Linked DNA regions of Homo sapiens: regions 2 and 3 are each linked to region 1. Evidence: promoter capture Hi-C in 16 types of primary human blood cells and fetal thymus (Javierre and others, 2016). All regions are on one chromosome and are shown on one strand. The core of a region is centred on a gene start or on the middle of the fragment in contact, and the rest is flanking DNA. Distances in the headings are between cores, read along the strand shown.

Evidence for each region. The method cuts DNA at HindIII sites, captures the fragments that hold promoters and counts their contacts. A CHiCAGO score of 5 or more calls a contact.
Region 2: a fragment that was not itself captured here is called in contact with the fragment with the promoter of TPRG1-AS2 in region 1 in 2 of 17 cell types (monocytes and neutrophils); the score reaches 10.2 in monocytes.
Region 3: a contact is called between a fragment that was not itself captured here and the fragment with the promoter of TPRG1-AS2 in region 1, in 2 of 17 cell types (total B cells and monocytes). The highest score is 7.5, in total B cells.

Annotation. Positions count from the first base shown.
Region 1 is chr3:189,239,127-189,242,534 of GRCh38, forward strand. It overlaps TPRG1-AS2 (TPRG1 antisense RNA 2), which reads right to left and starts at 1,468. Exons shown (of 3, transcript NR_046722.1): 1 at 1,371-1,468; 2 at 1,151-1,260. The region is part of intron 4 of TPRG1 (tumor protein p63 regulated 1); the gene reads left to right. RefSeq lists an enhancer at 1-550. The HindIII fragment of the contact is 9,051 bases long and covers 1-1,852 here.
Region 2 is chr3:187,337,146-187,340,590 of GRCh38, forward strand. No RefSeq gene overlaps it. Among named protein-coding and RNA genes, the nearest start is that of RTP4, 30 kb to the right of the region's middle. The HindIII fragment of the contact is 1,817 bases long and covers 1,280-3,096 here.
Region 3 is chr3:187,314,219-187,317,313 of GRCh38, forward strand. No RefSeq gene overlaps it. Among named protein-coding and RNA genes, the nearest start is that of MASP1, 24 kb to the left of the region's middle. The HindIII fragment of the contact is 3,543 bases long and covers 1-3,095 here.

The sequences.
Region 1 (3,408 bases), core at 218-2,717:
TAAAGACATACCCCAAACTGGGAATACAAAAAGGTTTATTGAACTGACAGTTCCACATGGCTGGGGAGGCCTCAGAATTATGGCGGGAGGGGAAAGTCTCTTCTTATATGGCCGCAGCAAGAGAAAATGAGGAAGAAGGAAAAGTGGAAACCCCTGTTAAACTCATCAAGTCTCGTGAGACTTATTCACTATCAAGAGACTGGCATAGGCAAGACTGGACCCCATGGTTCAATTACCTCCCCCTGGTTCCCTCCCACAACACATGTGAATTCTGGGAGATACAATTCAGGTTGATATTTTGGTGGGGACACAGCCAAACCATGTCAGTAAATTTGTATTTTAGTATGAGGACGTGACAAATAAATAGCTAATGTAAGGAAGAAAGAGCTGTGGGAACATGGGGAAAATGCACTCAACCTAATTTGTGTGTCACGTAATCAGAGAAAACTTTCAGAAGAAACACTTGAGCCAATATTTAATATTGGGCAGGAGTTAGCCAAAGAAGGAGAACCAAAGGGGAAGAACATTCCAAAGCGGTAGCTAAAAAGAGTAATGCCTCTGGGAATTGAAATTATTCTGTAAAGCTCAGTGGATAGAACCAAAATGGGTAGTAGCTCTTCTTATAAAATGTCTCTTGGGATCATTCCTGGAAGTTCAGTGACGTAGGGGTGGTGAGGTGTGTCAACTGTTTCACAGATGTTGACAATTACCAAGAGACTTGGTGAGGTCTACAGAGGAGAATGCTGAATTAGGTAAGTTCCTGTCATAGTCTTCGAGGCATCTGCCTTTACTAAACATTTTAGATCTAAGCAAGAGAAACAACAGTCTTTCTCTAAGACTGAATGTGAGGTCTTCCCATTGAACCGTGAATTCCTTGCGGGCAAATGTTGATTTTGTTGTCCTTTAAGCACCTGGCATTAGGACTAGCACATAGTAGGGTCTGAAATCTTTTCAATATACAGAAAAAAGCACGAGTTCATCAAGTGACTTGCTTTCCTTACACTATGCATACTACATAAAAAACTTATTTTTGCTTACTCTTTTCATGGATGCAAAAAGTGATTAATTTATTAAGTTCATTAGCTTTTAAAACTGTTGATTTTTTTCAATAATAATATTACACATTGTAAAATATATATTTAAATATTACAAAAATGTTCATTTTCAGGAACTCTCTCTTCTACACCAGACCCTCGGTTCTTCAGCCTTCCCTCCATGGGTGATAGTCAACAGTTTCTTGTGTATTTTTAAATAAATAGTCTATAAATATAAAAGAATAAAAAGTTCTGTATTAGTCCATTGTCACGTTGCTGATAAAGATATACCTGAGATTGGGCAATTTACAAAAGAAAAAGATTTATTGGACTTACAGTTCCACGTGGCTGGGAAGGCCTCACAATCATGGCAGAAGGTGAAAGGCACATCTCACACGGTGGCAACAAGAGAAGAACTTGTCCAGGGAAACTCCTGTTTTTAAAACCATCAGACCTAATGAGACTCATTCACTATCACGAGAACAGCGCAGGAAAAACTTGCTCCCATAATTCAATCACCTCCCACCGGGTTCCTCCCACGACACATGGGAATTGTGGGTGTTACAATTCAAGATGAGATTTGGGTGGGGACATAGTCAAACCATATCAAGGTCTCTCTGTGTACATATGCCTATACACGTTTAAAAGTACATATCTACACACATATTTATTACATATTATTTTACCTAATGAAAGCACATGTCATAAACTGTCCTGCCTCATGCTATAATATCTACCAGTGATATAACTTGGAGGTTTATATAATCATCTATAGATCAATCTCAGTGTTTTTTAATAGTGCAGAATATTACCTCTTAAGCTTAATCTATTTAGCCAGTCCCTCATTGATGTATATCTATTTTTACCGTTGCTACTACAAAGTGCTGCTACAAATATCCTTGCTTACAAGACTTTGCACAAACATGTAATTGTTCCTTTAATGTATTAATGGATTTCTAGAAGTGGAATTTTTAGGTCAAAGTCATGTAAATTTTAACCGATGAGTATTGTCAAATTGCCTTCCAAACAGGTGCTACCAATTAATACTTTCACAAAGTATCAGGGTAATCTTTTCCACACACCCACACCAATATCAAGTATTACAAAACCTTTTTACATTGCCAGTGAGATAGTAAAGAAAAGTCTCTTATTTGGGGTTCAAATTGCATCACTAGAATTTGAAGAACGATATGTGTTTTTATCCTTGGGTTAGAAAGCCATATTATTTATTTTTCTGTGAACTGCCTATTTATGACTATAGCCCATTTTTTTTTTCCTGTTGGGATGTTTAATTTTTTTCTTATTGATTTGTAAGAGCTATTTGTGTATTAGAGAACTGAATTCCTTTTCTGTCCTATATGTTGCAAATAAATTTTTCCCAGTTTGTCATATCTCTTTTAACATTATTATGCTATTTTTCATGACCTTTAGTTTTGGGGTATTGATATGGTTTGGTTGTGTCCCCACCAAAATATCAACCTGGACTCTATCTCCCAGAATTTCCACATGTTGTGGGAGGGACCCATGGAGAGGTAATTGAATCATGGGGGCTGGTCTTTCCAGTGCTATTCTTGTGATAATGAATAAGTCTCATGAGATTTGATGAGTTTATTACGGGGTTCTGCTTTTGCTTCTTGCTCATTTTCTCTTGCTGCCACCATGTAAGAAGTGCCTTTTGCTTCCTGCCATGATTCTGAGGTCTTCCCATCCATGTGAAACTGTAAGTCCAATTAAACCTCTTTTTGTTCCCTGTTTGGGGTATGTCTTTATCAGCAGTGTGAAACAAACTAATACAGGTATCAAATTTCTCATTCTTTCAAGGCTTCTAAATTTATGTCTTTTTGAGAAAAGCTTTCTCCATACTATAATTATAAAGTAAATTTCCAAGTTTTTGTCTAGTAATTTTATTTTACTGTTAACAACGAACTTATATTTCATCTAAAATTTGCCTTGAGTAAAGAAGAAGGTATGCAATCAACTTGAATTTTTATCCAGATGGCAGGCTAGATTTCTCGATATCATATATTTGATATTTTATGTTTATTATTTTATAATGTAGTACTTTTCTCTGTGTGTTTCTGTACCTGGATTTTCTATTCCATTCCATTTGTGTCTCTTAAAGCTCAAAATGGTTTTAATTATTATAACCTTATATTATGTGTCAATATCTGGTTGAGTTATTCCCCATTTATTAATCGTTTTTTATTTATGCATATTTATTTTTTAATCAGCTTGTCTAATGTTTGAAAGTCTTATTTTTATTAAGATTTTCAAATATTAAGTCAGTTCTTCATTCCTAAGGTAAACATGTTTGGTTGTGACATATTATTCTTTTTATGCATTAGTGGATTTAGTTTGCTAATATTTTATGGAT
Region 2 (3,445 bases), core at 938-3,437, 1.9 Mb before region 1:
CTGCAGGCATCTCCTCTGCAACATAGGGCAGATTGATCTTTCTTTTTTTTCTTTTTTCTTTTTTTTTTGAGACAGAGTCTCCCTCTGTCACCCAGGCTGGAGTGCAGTGGCGCGATCTCGGCTCACTGCAACCTCTGCCTCCCAGGTTCAGGCAATTCTCCTGCCTTAGCCTCCTGCATAGCTGGGACTACAGGCATGCGCCACCATGCCCAGCTAATTTTTTGTATTTTTTAGTAGAGACAGGGTTTCACCATATTGGCCAGGCTGGTCTCGAACTCCTGACCTCAGGTGATTGGCCCGCCTCGGCCTCCCAAAGTGCTGGGATTACAGGCTTGAGCCACTGAGCCCAGCCACAGAGAAATCTTTTTAAACTGCCAGTTTGGCTGTGTCACTCTCCTACTTCAAGTCTAGCTGCGTGAGTTTCACATATAATGCCCTCTGCAGTACAGCCTGCCTGTTTTTCTACCCTCTCTTCCACCTGGCTTTTATACTGTACTAATTCAGAACTGCTGTATTTACTCCCTCTTCTCTCCTGTGCATATCCCAACACATATGTACATGTGCATACACACATGTCTTCTCACATATGTACACACACATCATCCATCCATCTGCTCCATGATCAGGAGGACAGAAGAGGGGATAGAAAGGGGACTTTACTGCCTAAAGCAAACACCCTCAGTGCCAACATGAGGAATGGGAGAACAGACTCATTCTATGTGGACTTGAAGACAGGACTGAAAACTGTGAGTTCATTTCAATGTAAAGAATCATTACTTGACAATTGAAGTTGTCTGAATACATGGCGGGCGCCCCGGGAAATAGTGAGCGTGCCGCTGGGATAACTCAGCACAGCCTGTCTGTCTCAGATGCTTCAGGTGCAGTTCTCACTCTGGGCATCACCTGGGAGTCAGTGACCTTCAGGTGACATTCTGATTGCATGATTCTATAAATCTCTGATAAAAAGTCCAGATCCAATTCCGCTATTTCCAGAAAAGACTTTCCTGTTTGAGGAAATCTCTCACCTCCCCAAACATGGTGCTCCCATGTAATCTACTCATGGGGGTGGATCAAACAGTCATAATCCACTCTGTTATCTCCTCTTCCCACTAGCTTATGACAAGAATCTGAGCCCAAGAGAGAAGAAGGGATTTGCCTAAAATTACAGAACTGCTAAGGGAGCATAATTAGGGTTCCTAACCATTAGAAACCCCCCCACCCGCACACACATACACTCCACACACTTCCCCTACATGGCCAGTCTGCATTAGACACTGAAAGCTTTACCACACACAACCCCACGCTCGAATTGCTTCCTATGTTCAGTGGAGTCACACTTGCTCTCATTTAACTACCTGAGCTTGATGGGGAAGAAGAGCAGGAAAGTAATTTGAACAGTTTGGGGAGGCCGCCTGACCTTCTGCTCATTAAGCAGAGCCCCAGCCCAGGCTGAGGGTAGGATGGCAGCCGAGTGCCTGCCGTTTCCTCAATGTGTCTCATTCCCTGAGTGCTGCTCAGAGTTGTAGGCATCCTGAATTACACGGCTGCTAAACGCAAGCTGGCGACTTCATCTGAGGCATTATCCACAAGCAGAAATCATTTCCAGCCCTGGAGGACCGACTGCTGGCATCGGACTCATAGAGGAATGTAAAGTCAATCTGCATTGTGGGGACTTTCTGAGAGGGTTAAGAGGGAAATTATGATGCTGTATCCTTTCCCTTCGCAAGCTGCAGGTTTTAGGGTACTGCTCCACTGTGTGAGGTCTCCCACCACTTCTGGTGCAGACCACATGATGGGAAGGCATCAGGCTTCCTTTCTGCAACTTGTACTCCTCACAGCAGCCTGAGAAGGGATGGTGCTGGGCACCCAGTGTTTCAGGAAGTAGTTATTGAATAGTTGCTTAGAAAAGAACTTACCTGCCTGGGCACAGTGGTTCACACCTGTAATCCCAGCACTTTGGGAGGCCGAGGCAGGTGGATCACGAGGTCAAGAGATCGAGACCATCCTGGCCAACACGGTGAAACCCCGTCTCTACTAAAAATACAAAAATTAGCTGGGTGCGGTGACACACACCTGTAGTTCCAGCTACTTGGGAGGCTGAGGCAGAAGAATCTTTTGAACCAGGGAGGTGGAGGTTGCAGTGATCCAAGATCATGCCACTGCATTCCAGCCTGGTGACAGAGTGAGACTCTGTCTAAAAAAAAAAAAAAAAAAAAAAAAAAGAAAAGGAAAAAAATAAAAGAAAACAACTTACCTTAGCCTTTCAGGATTGGTGTGGTATTAACAGAAGGAATATTAGTCTAACAGTTAGGGACCCCAAGTATGCTCTCTTACCAGTTCTGTGATTTTAGGCAAATCTCTTCCTCTCTTGGGTTCAGATTCTTTATCGGTGTGTGGGCGGCAGCAGGGTGGAGAGGGAGAAGGTAATTGGATTACAGGATGGCCACTCTCCCTTCCCATGTGGATATGCTAGGATTTTCTGAGTTTTTTGTTTCAGAGGTCAGCAACATTTTTCTGTAAAGGGCCAGAGGGTTTAGGCTTTGTGGACCACATGGACTTTGTCACAGCTACTCAACACTTCATCGTTGTGTGAAAGCAGCCATAGACAATAAATAGATGAATGAGCCTGGCTTTGTTTCATTACAATGTTCTTTACAAAGCAAGTGGAAAGCTGAACTTGGTTTGCTGATCCCTGGTTTGTAGGTGCTTGTTCTAGCCTCTTCTGTCTATTCTCCACACAATAGGGCTTTCTTACTCAGGCTGAAGTGAGTGGTGGGGACTCCTTTCTAAACCAGTCTGTTGCCTACCTGTGGCAAGACTCCTTACTTCTCCTCTGCCAGAGTCAAAGGATTCCAACTGAAGTAAGACTTTTCTTAGATTATTTCAGAGTTCTGCTTAATTTAGAGGCAAGAACCATGTGGTAAGAAAAAGTAACAGCAGTTGAACATCTTCACTTCTGCCATAGAAGCCCAGGTTTTCAAGACATCCCAAATCACTACGATGAGAGAAACATTTAGCTAATAACTAATATGTTCAATCTTTTCAGTAACAAGACCTATAGAGAATATCTCAAGAGCTGGACATATTTGCCTCCTAAGCTTGATATCCAAAGTCCTCTTGATTTAGCGTCAGCACCTTTTATACAAACTCCTATAACTACTACCAGACATGGCATCCATTCTGTCACTTCTAAGCTTCAAGCAAGGTGATCAGCCTATCTGTGCCTCAGTTTTCTCAATCAAATGAAATAATTTGTTTCAAGAGCTCTGCACAACTCCTGGCATACAGTAGGCACTTGATAAATGCTGTGGATTAGCTCCTTGTACCATGAACAGTCCTCACACTCACCTGCCTCTCAGGTAGTGCCTTGACTCACCTTCCTCCTGGCATGTCTGCATTCTTCTCATTCTCAAGATTCAGCTCCAATATTGACTGGCTAGGAAAG
Region 3 (3,095 bases), core at 103-2,602, 1.9 Mb before region 1:
CTTTCTCACAGTCCTGACTTATTACATCCCTGGGTAAGTAGAGGGAAATTTAATTCATATGTTCCCCAGTTATTTACACAATTCTGAGCAAGACTCCACCATTGTGTAAGAGCCATTTGACGTCGGTGGCACTGCTTTCTTTTTTCCATTCTGAGAAGAGTCCTTGAAGAAAAGCCAGCTCCTTCATCTCCGAAGAAGGAAGGGGTAGGAGCCCAGGGAACTGTCATCTGGACCTGGCAGGGCTCTGCAGCATCTGGGGAGACTGTTTTCAGAGAGATTCAGAGAGGAGGCTGAGGAGAGGGGTTAAGACAGGAGCACCAGTGGGCTGCTGCCTAGCCCTGTGCCCCCGTGGGCTCTGCCAGCTGCTGCCAGCAGGAGCTTGGTGGAGGGAGGAGATAGAAGAAGCTGGGAGGTGCAGTGGGAAGATGGGGTCTTCCAGGCAGGGGTCCTCCAGTCTTGCATTCTGTCATAACCTTGGGAAGGTTAGTTTCTCTCCATAAGCCTCAGTTTCCCCTTCTGCAAAGCATGAGGGTGTACCTGGTTCTGCAATCTTTATGGGTTTCCAACAGCCTATTTATTCTAGGACTCTTTTTTGTGTCTTATTGTGAATATTATCTGGCACTCCCTAGACAAATGTCGTTTAAAAAATATTTTTACCATAATCCTCAGTAGGAAATACATTTTACACAATAGCCTACTTTATATAACTGAAACAAAGGTTTCATAAATTAATACTTATGCTTTCTGTGGGAACAGACATAAAGATTGATGGAACAGAAGAGAGAATGTACAGATAAATCTGTACACTTATGGTCAATTGATTTCTAACAAGGGTGCCCAGGTAACTCAATGGGGAAAGATGGTCTTTTTAAATAGTAGTGGGACAACTGGTTATCCAGATGCAAAAATAAATAAATACATACATACATAAATACATAAACTTAGAGTCTTACTTCACATGATACACAAAAAATTGATTAGTAAATGGATCACAGACAGAAATGCAACAGCGAAAAATAAGGAGTGACTGATTACACTTATACACACGAAGAATAGGATCGTCCTCACAGACATTATGCTGAGTGAAAGAAGCCCATCACAAAACCCTAAAGGTTTTATGATTCCATTTATAGGGAATTTCTAGAAAAGGCAAAAATAATAGAGACAGAAAGTAGATCAGAGATTCACTGAGGCTGTGGGACTGTATACAGGCAGGAGGGGACTTTGCTGTCAGAAAATGGAAGTGTTCTAGAACGGTGATGGTGCTTACACAGCGGGACAGATTTACTAAAACCCATCAAACAATACACTTACGAAGCATGGACTTCATGGTATATCAATCATAACTTAAATATGACGACTAATAAAATTAAACCTAAAGAATACAGATGATAAATTATTTGTTCATTTTTTAAAATGTAGGTTCTCTGGGTATGACGAGTTAGTTCCAAACCACCTCTTATGACTTTATTCATCTCTCTTCATAACATCCACAGCATCATTACACATAGCTATTGCTTATTAATGACTATTCACTTGAAAATATTAAAAAGAATAGATACATACTGATTGAATTTATTTTGAAAACTGAATTGTTTTAAGAAAATGAGTTTTATAAGTCTAAGCAGATCTTTCTACATTTTTATATCCAATACCAACAAATGCCTCTAGTAAATCATAATTAGCCACAGATTCAAGCACATAAGTTTGTCATACCCACTACAGGCCCAATCTAATTGTTCTGAATGCTTGCGAAGCACAAGGAAAAAAGTTCTATCTCTCTGTAGGTGTTTAGGATGGGAACCAGTCACCTCCAAACCAGTTAATGACTAGTTTCCTACGCAGTTCAGTGGTTTCAAATCTAACTGATCATCAGAATGATTCATTGACCTCATCCCCTGCCCAGACTTAATCAATTGGAATTTCTGTGGGGACACTTCTTAAAAAGTTTTTCCAGGCCGGGCATGGTGGCTCATGCCTGTAATCCCAGAACTTTGGGAGGGCGAGGCAGGCAAATCATTTGAGGTCAGGAGTTCGAGACCAGCCTGGCCAACATGGTGAAACCCCCATCTCTACTAAAAATACAAACATTAGCCGGGCATGGTGGCGCACACCTGTAATCCCAGCTACTCAGGACGTTGAGGCAAGAGAATCGCTTGAACCTTGGAGACGGAGGTTGAAGTGAGCTGAGATAGCACCACTGCACTCCAGGTTGGGTGACAAAGCGAGACTCTATTTAAAAAAAAAAAATTCCCAGGTTGTCAGGGAGGTTTATGAGCCTCATTTGTAGCCACATCCTTTGGTATAGTCAGTTTTGAGATAGATCACAGAGAACTGGTTTCCAATTATAGCTTAAATAGCAAGGTTTGCAAATAAAGGACATTAAAATATTATAAAGAACAGTATAGATTAAGTTGCCTCAACAATCACACCACCCACTATTCCTTGCCTTTGCATCTTTAGAAAGAATTGGTATAATAGTTGTTAGGCTAGAATTCTGCAAACCCCTGAGAACCCACATTGATAACCTCAAATTCTTGGCTTTTCAAAGCCTCCTAAGCCTTTTTAGTCAAATGGAGATACCATCAATTAATTTTTTATGTTATCATTTGCCATTACATCAAGTCACCCTCCTGTATTTGCACAAGCTAATTTAAAAATCAACTGCAGAATTTCCACTTACACTACAGAAGCCAGTTTGTAGCTCTTCACTCTAGATTGTAAATATCTTTTTGAATCTTCAGTTGTTTAATGAACTCATCAATTCTCCCAGATTAATAGTATCTCAAATTTTACCAAATGAGCTTTTGTATTCAGGACATTTATTTTCATTGCCTTTGCCTTTAATCAACCTGCAAATCTATTTTCCCTCACACTCTCCCCTTGCTTCTAGCCACCTGCCTCAAGAGGGAAGGGGCCTTCCTCCTTGGTCCTCAGGAACCTCCCCTCTCCAGCGATGCCTGCTCTGTCTTGTATCCACTGCTTGTGACTCTCAGCCTGCTCGTCTTCCACAGCTTAGACTGATATTCAAATCTTTCCCATCTGTAAAACAAAATCTTTCTGTGGCACAAAATTTCCCTTCCCATTCAGCCTTC